2 separate regions of the Homo sapiens genome follow, and region 2 is linked to region 1. The links are contacts of gene promoters, found by promoter capture Hi-C in blood cells and fetal thymus (Javierre and others, 2016). All regions are on one chromosome and are shown on one strand. Each heading gives the region's core, a stretch centred on a gene start or on the middle of the fragment in contact. The rest is flanking DNA. Distances are from core to core; before and after follow the strand shown. Region 1 holds the start of DNAJA1 (DnaJ heat shock protein family (Hsp40) member A1). Region 2 overlaps DCAF12 (DDB1 and CUL4 associated factor 12).

Region 1 (4,467 bases), core at 1-2,500:
ACCCCCAAAACATCGTAGTAAGTTGTTTCTTTCACCATCTTCTACTGCCTGAAATAAGAAAATGCAACTTTAACCGGCTTTCAACTGGTAGCTTTTAATAAAAAAGAGAGCTAAGGCCGAGCAATCTCTTTGCAAAATCCGATTATAAGAACACCACCTTCCCTAAATTTCACCAAAAAGGTAACAATTCCTGCGATAATTCAGCTATAAACTCGAACAGACAAAACAAATAATCATTATCGGGAAATAATCTGAGAGCCGCCTTCTAGCAGCTGGTTCCAATTTTCCTACACCAAAGCTTCCATACTAATATAACACAACTATTATCTGGATTCTTCCCGTTTGCCCTAGAGGCGGTGACAGTTGTAACCAAAAGAAGCACTGATATGTTCAGTCTACCGGTCATTACACTATCACTGTCTTTGGCAAATCTGATAAACTCCATATACTCTCCAGAAAAAGACGTCTGGGCACACAGTGGTGGGGGGGAGTGGTTTATAGAACAGGTTACTGGCTCCACACAGCAAGCCCTCCACCGCCCACGGCTTACAGCTTCTCCAGCCGAATCCCTCTCGCCCCTCAGGCTGGCAGAGTTTACCTGCCAGGTTTCCCCTTGCACTTGGCGCTGACCGATTTCCTTCCTTTCTCCCTCCCACCCTGGACCCAAGTGGCGGTGGGGAAAGCCCAGCCCTCAACAAACAAAGGGAGGGGAAACAGAGAAAGCGAAACCAAAAGCCGCAGTCTCCGCCCGGCTCCCCCCGCAGCCCCTCGCCCCTGCCTCCCTGTGCGCGTGCGCAGGGTCGCCAACCCCACTCCCCCCCCCCACCCCGAGCGAGCACGGACGGGGAGGGGGGCCGCGGGGGCGCGCACGGAGGGGCAGCCGAAGACAGTAGCTCCTTGGAGATCCCAGGCTGGGGAAGGAGGGAGGTCTAGGAAAGGTCTCGGGCCCATTCACTGTGCGTGCCGGGGATGGGTTGCCAGGGCACCACACCAGCCCTCCAAAAGGGAAATCGTGGGCCCAGGAACTGACAGCGGTCCTACCCACGCGGCCAACTGCCTCCCGACCGCGGCTCCATCGGTTTCCCGGCGCCAATGGCGCCAGCCAGGGGACTAGGGGCAGCGCGAGGGCTCAAACTCACCGGTGCGGGCTGAGGCCGGTGTGTGAGGGAGCGGGAAGGAGCGCCGAGCTGTGCGCAGCCGGGGTAGTTACCGCTCCTCCGCCTCTCACCGAGCGTTCTGGAAAGTTCCGCCCGGCGCGCCGCAGCCGTCCTCTTTTGTAGCCGAACCCGGGCGCGTCACCCGCCGGAAGTCCCGCCCTTCTCGGCCGCTGCCACCGCCCCGCCGTTACCTGGGCAACGGCGCGGGGGCGCACGGGTCGGGAGGAGCTGCGCCGAAAGGCCTTGTGGGTGTTGGTGCTAGCGCGGCTTCCCGGCGCTCGTGGAATCTTCTGGAGCCCTTTTCTCCACTCAGCGAGCCTGAGAGTGCGGAAGTCTCCGGCTGGTGGGGCATGGCCCAGGAGCACTGCAAGTCCTAGGGTTCCCAAACCTGTGGGGTGGCCGCCTGGGCCCGCGAGGGCGGGAAGGGCTCGAGTACAGTGACCCAGCGGGAGCTGTGTGTGAACGGGAAAGCTCTTGGAACAGTCTTGCCCCCCCCCCCCCCCCTCTTACGGGCGCCTCTTCTCTTTTTGGGAACGTGGCGAGCAAAAAATGCTTGAGCCAGGTGGGTCTAGTCCCCAGACCAATAGCATAGGCCTTGGGTCTTGCTGTTTTTCACGCGTGGTCCAAGGCGGCATAATTAATCAAATTGTGAAGTTGTTAAGGCTTTTTGTGCAAGTCCAGGCCCCTAGACACATGTTATCTGCCCTGGACCTCGCTGATTCGTGCAGATTGAGCTCAGTGTGTCTGGGACTGAGCTAAACAGTGAGACGTTTGGACCGTCTTTGATGTACAGAGGGCCGTGGACTCCTCTGGTCAGGTTTTCACCCAGTTTGGCTACAGAGTAGCCGCAAGAGTGTCTGACTAAAACAATTTGTTTAATTATTTGACCTCACTTTTAAATCCTACGGGTCAGGGAACCTGGATGTACAATCTGCAACGTAAGACCTCGGACTTGAAAATGGTACCACGGGGGCTTAATGGGAATTGGGGTCCGCTTCTTTATCCAGGGACACAGCAGGTATGTCAGTATCTAGCACCAAGAAAGATGGAGTTTGCCACGCTCGGTGGCTCACGTGTGTAATCCCAGCACTTTGGGACGCCAGCGTGGGCTGATTGCGTGAGCTCAGAAGTTTGATACCAGCCCAAGCAACATGGTGAAACCCCGTCTCGATTTAAAACAAAAACAGAACTGGAGATGCAGAGTTGAAAAGCCCCAGTTAGACTTTAGTGAGAAGCCAAACAAGTCAACAGACTGCCAGAGAAACCATGAGGTAGAAGTCAGTAGGGGAGAGCCTCCTATATTAACCTGATAGATCAGAGAGAATTTCTTTGGGAAAGTGGCAATTGAGCTGAGTTTTGAAAATGGGAGGAGAGCAGTGGACAAAGCACAGGGGAAGGCTATACTAAGGTGTGGAAGAATATGATGTTTTTAGGAAATTGCAACTAATTGGATATAGCCATAGCTAAGGGAGCTAGAATAGCCGGAGGTGAGGCTTCAAAGCTAGTTAGGGCATGCCTTTGTCTGTTGGTATATATGCTACGCTAAGAATTTTGAACTTTATCCTTGGAAGCATCCTCATGCTGCCTCTTCAGCCTTTTCTCTTTCATTAATTTTAACTGTGCATTCCAGTCACAGAACTATCCGCAGTTTCCCATATACGCCTTTTCACCTTTGTATGCTTTTGCATTGGCTGACAGACACCTGATTTTTTTCAATCTTAGGTGTTGCCTTCTCAAGTATCACCTCTGGTATAAAGTTTTTTGTTTAAACCAACCGTTAATAAACGTCTAATATTACCAGGCAGTGTACTAGGGCTTTGTAATACAAAAATCACGTAAGTCAGGCCGGGCGCCGTGCCTCACACCTGTAATCCCAGCACTTTGGGAGGCCAAGGTGGCGGATCACCTGAGATCCGGAGTTCTAGACCAGCCTGGCCAACTTGGTGAAACCCTTCTCTACTAAAAATAGAAACAATTAGCCAGGTATGGTGGCACGTGCCTGTAGTCCCACCTTCTCAGGAGGCTGTGGCAGGAGAATCGCTTGAACCTGGGAGGCGGAGGTTGCAGTGAGCAGAGATGGTGCCGCTATACTCCAGCCTGGTTGACAGAGCAAGACTCTGTCGAGTCTCAGAAAAAAAAAAAAATCACATAAGTCGTGGTCCCTGCCTTCAAGGAGCTCACAACATAGGGAACCAGAAACAAACAGTTGAGTGTTAAATGCTAATAAAGGAAGAGTAGGGGGTGCATGGTGGCTCAAGCCTGTAATCCCAGCACTTTGGGAGGCCAAGGCAGGCGGATCCCTTGAGTCCCGGAGTTTGAGACCAGCCTGAGCAACATAATAAGACCTCGTTTCTACAAAAATTAGAGTTAGTGTGGTGGTGTGGGCCTGTACTCCCAGCTACTTGGGAGGCTGAGGCAGGAGGATGGACCTGGGAGGTCAAGGCTGCAGTGAGTGGTGATTGCACCACTGAACCTCAGCCTGGACGACAGAGCAATACCCTGTCTAAAAACGAAACTAACAAAAAAGTTAACACTTTTAAGAAGCATTCTTACGTAAAATAAAATAAAAAAACTGGCAATAACTTTGTATGTGGTCTTCGTTTGTACAGAAATGGGATCATTATACAAGCTGTTTACAGCTTGCCCTTTTCACTTTGTCATCTTACTATGCCAGGATAAATAACTAATCTGCCTTGTTATTTTTAATGGCGTAGTATGTAGGCACCGTAATTTATTCCCCTACTGATGAATATTTCAGCAATTTCCAGTGTTTTACAAACTGCTGCAGAGAAATTAGCAAATACAGCTTTGAGTACTCATGCAAGTATTTCTGTTGGATGGACAGCTAGAATTGAAATTGCTGAGTCAACATGAATGTAGATTTAAAATTGTAATAAATAAGTTTCCATACTGGTTTGTAACTGCTTCCAGCAGTGTGTGAGTGGGCCTTGCCAATATGAGGGCCTTTTGTTGTTAAATCTTTGCTAAGCTTGGAGATAAAAAGTGATATCTTATTGTTTCGAGTTTCTTTGTTAGTAAGTTTAACCATGTTTTAAATGTTTACTGACTCTCCTGTCAACTGTTCATATTATTTTACCATTTTTCTGTGGTGTAATTCCACTATTTTAATAATAGCCCTTTTAGGGGTAGATATTAGTCTGTCATGTGTTACAATTGTTTTCTTTAGTATATTCTTCGCTTTTTACTTAGTATCTATATATATATTTTTCGGCCATATAAAGATTTTAATTTTTATGTAGATAAATTGTGACTCTTCCTTTTTGGCCTTTTTCTTCTCTCCACCTTCCCC
Region 2 (4,835 bases), core at 1,643-4,142, 1.1 Mb before region 1:
GACGGGAATCGGGGTCCAGGGTCTGCAGTCAGAGGCAAAACAGGAATGGGTTCAGGGCCTATAGGGTCAGGACTGGACCCTCGTTAACTGGAGGGCAGATAGGCCAGGGCGGTGAGGAGCCAAAGGGGAACTCAGGAATGGGACATAATCCGCGGGAGGCCTGCATTCGTGGATAGGGCTTGAAAAGAAACCAGAATCTTGGCTTTGGAGGAAGGGGAAACCGAAGTTAAGGGAATCGGAAACAAACTCTGGTAGAGTGAACTCTACCTTCCATGGGCCCTAGGAAGCTGGGATGATTGCGTCCCTCCTGGAAGAAGGAAGTAGTCTCCCTATATGTATACCCAACCCTGAGCTGGGCCTTTCGGCGTTTGGACCCCAAAAGAAACAACAGTTCCCAGGTATCATCTCTATGCCGCCCCCTTTGGAGGGGAAGGCCTTCTTGGACATAGATATGGCCTCTGATTTCCCGGGGGCCTACTACCCCGTTGGCGGTTGATTTTTCGAATTCTGCAACTGCCTGGAGCGCGGGCATGATGACAGAGGAACGGTCATTGATGATGCATCCCTGGAAGACCTGGGAGCCAGGTCTGGCTCCTTGGACTGTATCTTCCGTGCTCCAGTGGGAGTACAGACTGAGAGGGAGAAGGGGGCTGGGTAGAGATGCAGCCCATGTCGGTATGGGAATCACTCTACCTCTCATTTCCTTCAATCTTTCACTCCTAAAATGTCTAGTAAACCTTTTAGTCTGTTCTATTCTGCATTCATTCCCTTGACTTTCAGCCCTTGTAATTCACATTGGTAAGTTTGACTGTGAGCAACATCTTTTTAATGTTGGAAGAGTTAAACGACTTTCTGGATTGAGATTCTTGTTCTCTTGTGTTTGTATTTGTGTTGTTTGTAAATTCTGCAGTATGAGTTATGAGTTGGTGATTTCTGTAATACAGTAGGATCTGTTCTGAAGAAGAGTAGCCAAAGCCCTGATTTCTAATGTTGTTTCCACAGTTTGGCTGGGATCACTCGCTTCACAAAAGGAAAAGACTTCCTCCTGTGAAGAGATCCTTAGTATACTACTTGAAGAACCGGGAAGTCAGGCTACAGAATGAAACCAGCTACTCTCGAGTGTTGCATGGTTATGCAGCACAGCAACTTCCCAGTCTCCTGAAGGAGAGAGAGTTTCACCTTGGGACCCTTAATAAAGTGTTTGCATCTCAGTGGTTGAATCATAGGCAAGTGGTGTGTGGCACAAAATGCAACACGGTAAGTGCCTGGGGGGATGTGACCTCTCTCCTAGGTCGTGGATATATTGCTCCACTTGCTCTAGAACCTCTGCTAGTTTTCCCGTCTGTTTCTTTTAGGAGGGACTTGCCTTACTCTCCTTTCCATTCTTTCCCGTTGGTGACTTCTTCCTCTTTTCGTGTTCCTTTTTTCACTCATACATTTCTTTTCTGATAAGTCCTCAAAGGAGTGTATTTCTTCAGGCCCTCTCTGGATGTGCTGCTTCTAGAGGGTTGTTTGTTTGTTTGTTTGTTTTTGCCTCATATTTTTATGCTGGTTTTTAAGTCATAGGCCTCAAAGGAAAGATTTAAGAAATAATGATGCTTAGAGCATCATTCAGGATACATAATAGTGAAAACAGCCTAAGAACGTATGTCGAAGTATTTAAAATAGCACACTTGGCTGTTTTTTAGTGAACAGAATCTAAAAATGTATAAACTGAAATATGAGAAATACATGAACTGTTTCCTATAAGGAAGGCAGGGAATGTGTGTCTGGTAGTATATTTCAGGGTATAAGCATTAGCTCTTTGGAAAGTAGCCTTTTTAAGAGTGAATAGAAAGACAGTTATAAATGAATGAAGTGAAAAATTTCTCAGTAAGCTTTGTAACCAACCCAATTATAGGCCAGGATAAAATAAGTCAAAGAGCAGAAACGTTTGGAATAGAGTCCACGAATAGCATGATGTCACAAGACTGGCAAATGAAAAGAGGCAGGGCCTAGGGCCTAGGGGTGGGAAATGATTACGCCCAGCCCTCCCTCGGTTTTCACCTCCCCTGTGTGAATGGACAAGTAATGTCATAATGTGTGAGTAAATTGACCCTGGAATGAAACACATTTTGGATCATTAAAAGAGAGAAGATTGCTCTAGATCAAGAAAGTCTTAAGTACTAGGAGAAGTGTCTGTTTATAAAGGACATAGGCAAAAATTTAAACAGTTTTAAGGAAGGAAATAATACCATGGTGGTTGGTCTGTTTATAAAGGACATAGGCAAAAATTTAAACAGTTTTGAGGAAGGAAATAATACCATGGTGGTTGGGGCCAACCTTTCGTTTCCTCTTCTGTTGAGGAGTCGCTTGTCTTACCCAGAAGCCTTTCAAAACTAAGTGGTGGCAACGGGCCTCCACAGAACTTCCTTTTCTTGGTCTCTCCAGCTGCCCACTCGTGGTTAAGAACTGTCATCCTTGTCACTTGGAGTAGAAAAAGAGTCTCCTGCTTGGAAGAGTTCATTCCACTCCCCGCACGTGCATCATAGTGTTTAGCCTAGCAAATATTACTGAATTGTAAACTGAATTAATCATCATAGCCTCTTGCTTGTTGAATTTATTGACACTATTTTGAAGGCGAGCATAATAAGTAATAATTTAACCTACTCTTAATTCCTACCTCTTTCTGTCTTCCTAATCCTCATAACCTAGTGTTTGGGGCAAGGGGAGCTGTTTTCATTTTATAGTTAGTATTTGTTTGTTTTTGCTTAGCTTCCAGAACCAAAGCAGGGAACTAGGAATAGTGCTCTTCTCTGAACTTTGTGACATTGGGCAAATGATTCCCTTATTTGTGCTTTTGTTTTTGCATCTGCAAAATGGGAGTGATAATATCTGGTGCTAAGGTGTCTGCATGCATCTGGGAAATATTCTGAGTGAGCAATATCTTACTTATTTAAAAGTACTAGTAGCGGTAAAAATGATTTCCATAACCTTTTCCCACAATTTGAAGAGAGGAAAATTATTTAAAAATTGGAATTGTCTTTGGATAATGTGTGAAGATTTCAGAGGTGGGAGAGATTATGTTGTATTCTCAATAGGAAAGTTTTGATGTAGAATGTCCCTGTGCTGTGGGCTAACAATCAAACTAGGGTAGTCATTCAATCCCCAGATTTCTTGGCCCCAGCTAGCACAGCAGTAACAGCAAGGATAGCCACTGTTGTTTTTATCATTAATAACAATAAAGTCATATTTTTACTCAACTGCTTAAGTAGAGGTGGTATAACCTTAATTAGAACATGGATCTGGCAGCTGGGATGGGTTAGGTATATGTTCATGGTTTAGACTTACGCAAATTCAGATTGGCTGCGGAGCCAGACAGAAAAGCTAAGTGAAGAAAAGTTTGCTAGGCGCAAGACAGTAAGGAGTAGTAGGGGCTGCAAAGAACTACAGAAGGCATTCTTGACTTTAACCAACTGTTGCCGTGTAGGAATTTGAGCCTAGTGTTAAAAAGATTTTCTTTCGCAGGGCAAGGTGGCTCACACCTGTAATCCCAGCACTTTGGAAGGCCAAGGCGGGCGGATCACCTGAGGTCAGGAGTTCGAGACCAGCCTGGCCAACATGGTGAAACCCTGTTTCTACAGAAGTACAAACAAATTAGCTGGGCATGATGGTGGGTGCCTGTAATCCCAGCTACTCGGAAGGCTGAGGCAGGAGAATTGCTTGAACCCGGGAGGCGGAGGTTGTAGTGAGCTGAGATTGTGCCATTCTACTCCAGCCTGGGCAACAGAGTGAGACTCCGTCTCAAAAAAAAAAAAAAAAAAAAATTGATACTAATGTCTTGAACCTATATAACTGGAAAGATGGCAGGGTGAATGTTAAGGAACAGATTTGGGTTTTGTCCTTTTCATCAATTAGTTGAAGCTTGGCAGAGAGTAAGGATTGAAGTTAATGATTTGGCAGTCATTTATGTAGAAGGAATTATTGAAATTGTTACATTATCATGGGAAAGACAGTAGAGAGCAGGCATTCCTGGCTTGAGTTGTGTAAACTTTCCCTAAAATTGCAAAGTTTTGATTATATGTGTACTTTCTGGGCAAGATTTTGGGGGGGTGGTGTGGGAAGTCGTTCTTAGTTTTTGTCCTTAGATTTTGAAAGAGAGTACTATGAGCCAAAAATGGTTAAGAACCACTGATACTGACAGATAAGCTAAGGAGAGAACCTTGGAAAACATGTACATTTACAGGGCAAGAAGAACTGCTGCGGGGGAGCAGGGAACTCAGGAAAACCGGGAGAATACAGAAAAGAATTCAAGAAAGGAGGACTTTATTTTTGTTTGTTTGCTTTTTTGGTTTTTTTGAGACAGAGTCTCGCTATGTCACCAGGCTGGAGTGCAGTGGCGCGATCTCAGCTCACTGCAACCTCTGCCTCCTGGGTTCAATCGATTCTCCCGCCTCAGCCTCCTGAGTAGCTGGGATTACAGGTACCTGCCACCACACCCAGCTAATTTTTGTATTTTTAGTAGAGATAGGGTTTCACCGTGTTGGCCAGGATGGTCTCGATCTTCTGACCTCGTGATCCGCCTGCCTTGGCCTCCCAAAGTGCTGGGATTACAGGCATGAGCCACCGCGCCTGGCCGAAAAGAGGGCTCTTGAAGGGGCTGGGGGTGGGGTGTGATTTGAGGAGAAGGATGGCAATCGGCAGAGTGATGATCTACACAGTTGGAGGTATTTAATTTTGGACGTGAACTCTTATTTCCCATTGTCAGCACTCTCCAGTCAAAGACTACCAGGGACTGTTCTTGTAGCAGAACAAGTCAGATATAGTTGCTTGTTGTACCTAGGAGAACCTTCACC

The links. The method cuts DNA at HindIII sites, captures the fragments that hold promoters and counts their contacts. A CHiCAGO score of 5 or more calls a contact.
Region 2: a contact is called between a fragment that was not itself captured here and the fragment with the promoter of DNAJA1 in region 1, in 1 of 17 cell types (fetal thymus). The highest score is 6.9, in fetal thymus.

Annotation. Positions count from the first base shown.
Region 1 is chr9:33,022,056-33,026,522 of GRCh38, reverse strand. DNAJA1 (DnaJ heat shock protein family (Hsp40) member A1) reads right to left here and starts at 1,250. Exons shown (of 9, transcript NM_001539.4): 1 at 1,140-1,250; 2 at 1-48. The coding sequence starts at 38. It also overlaps a transcript of APTX not described here. RefSeq lists enhancers at 600-669, 626-1,220, 1,198-1,492, 1,815-2,410 and silencers at 770-909, 1,190-1,339. The HindIII fragment of the contact is 3,848 bases long and covers 301-4,148 here.
Region 2 is chr9:34,121,445-34,126,279 of GRCh38, reverse strand. DCAF12 (DDB1 and CUL4 associated factor 12) reads left to right here. Exons shown (of 9, transcript NM_015397.4): 2 at 1,003-1,257. Among named protein-coding and RNA genes, the nearest start is that of DCAF12, 2.8 kb to the left of the region's middle. RefSeq lists an enhancer at 1-33. The HindIII fragment of the contact is 2,026 bases long and covers 1,880-3,905 here.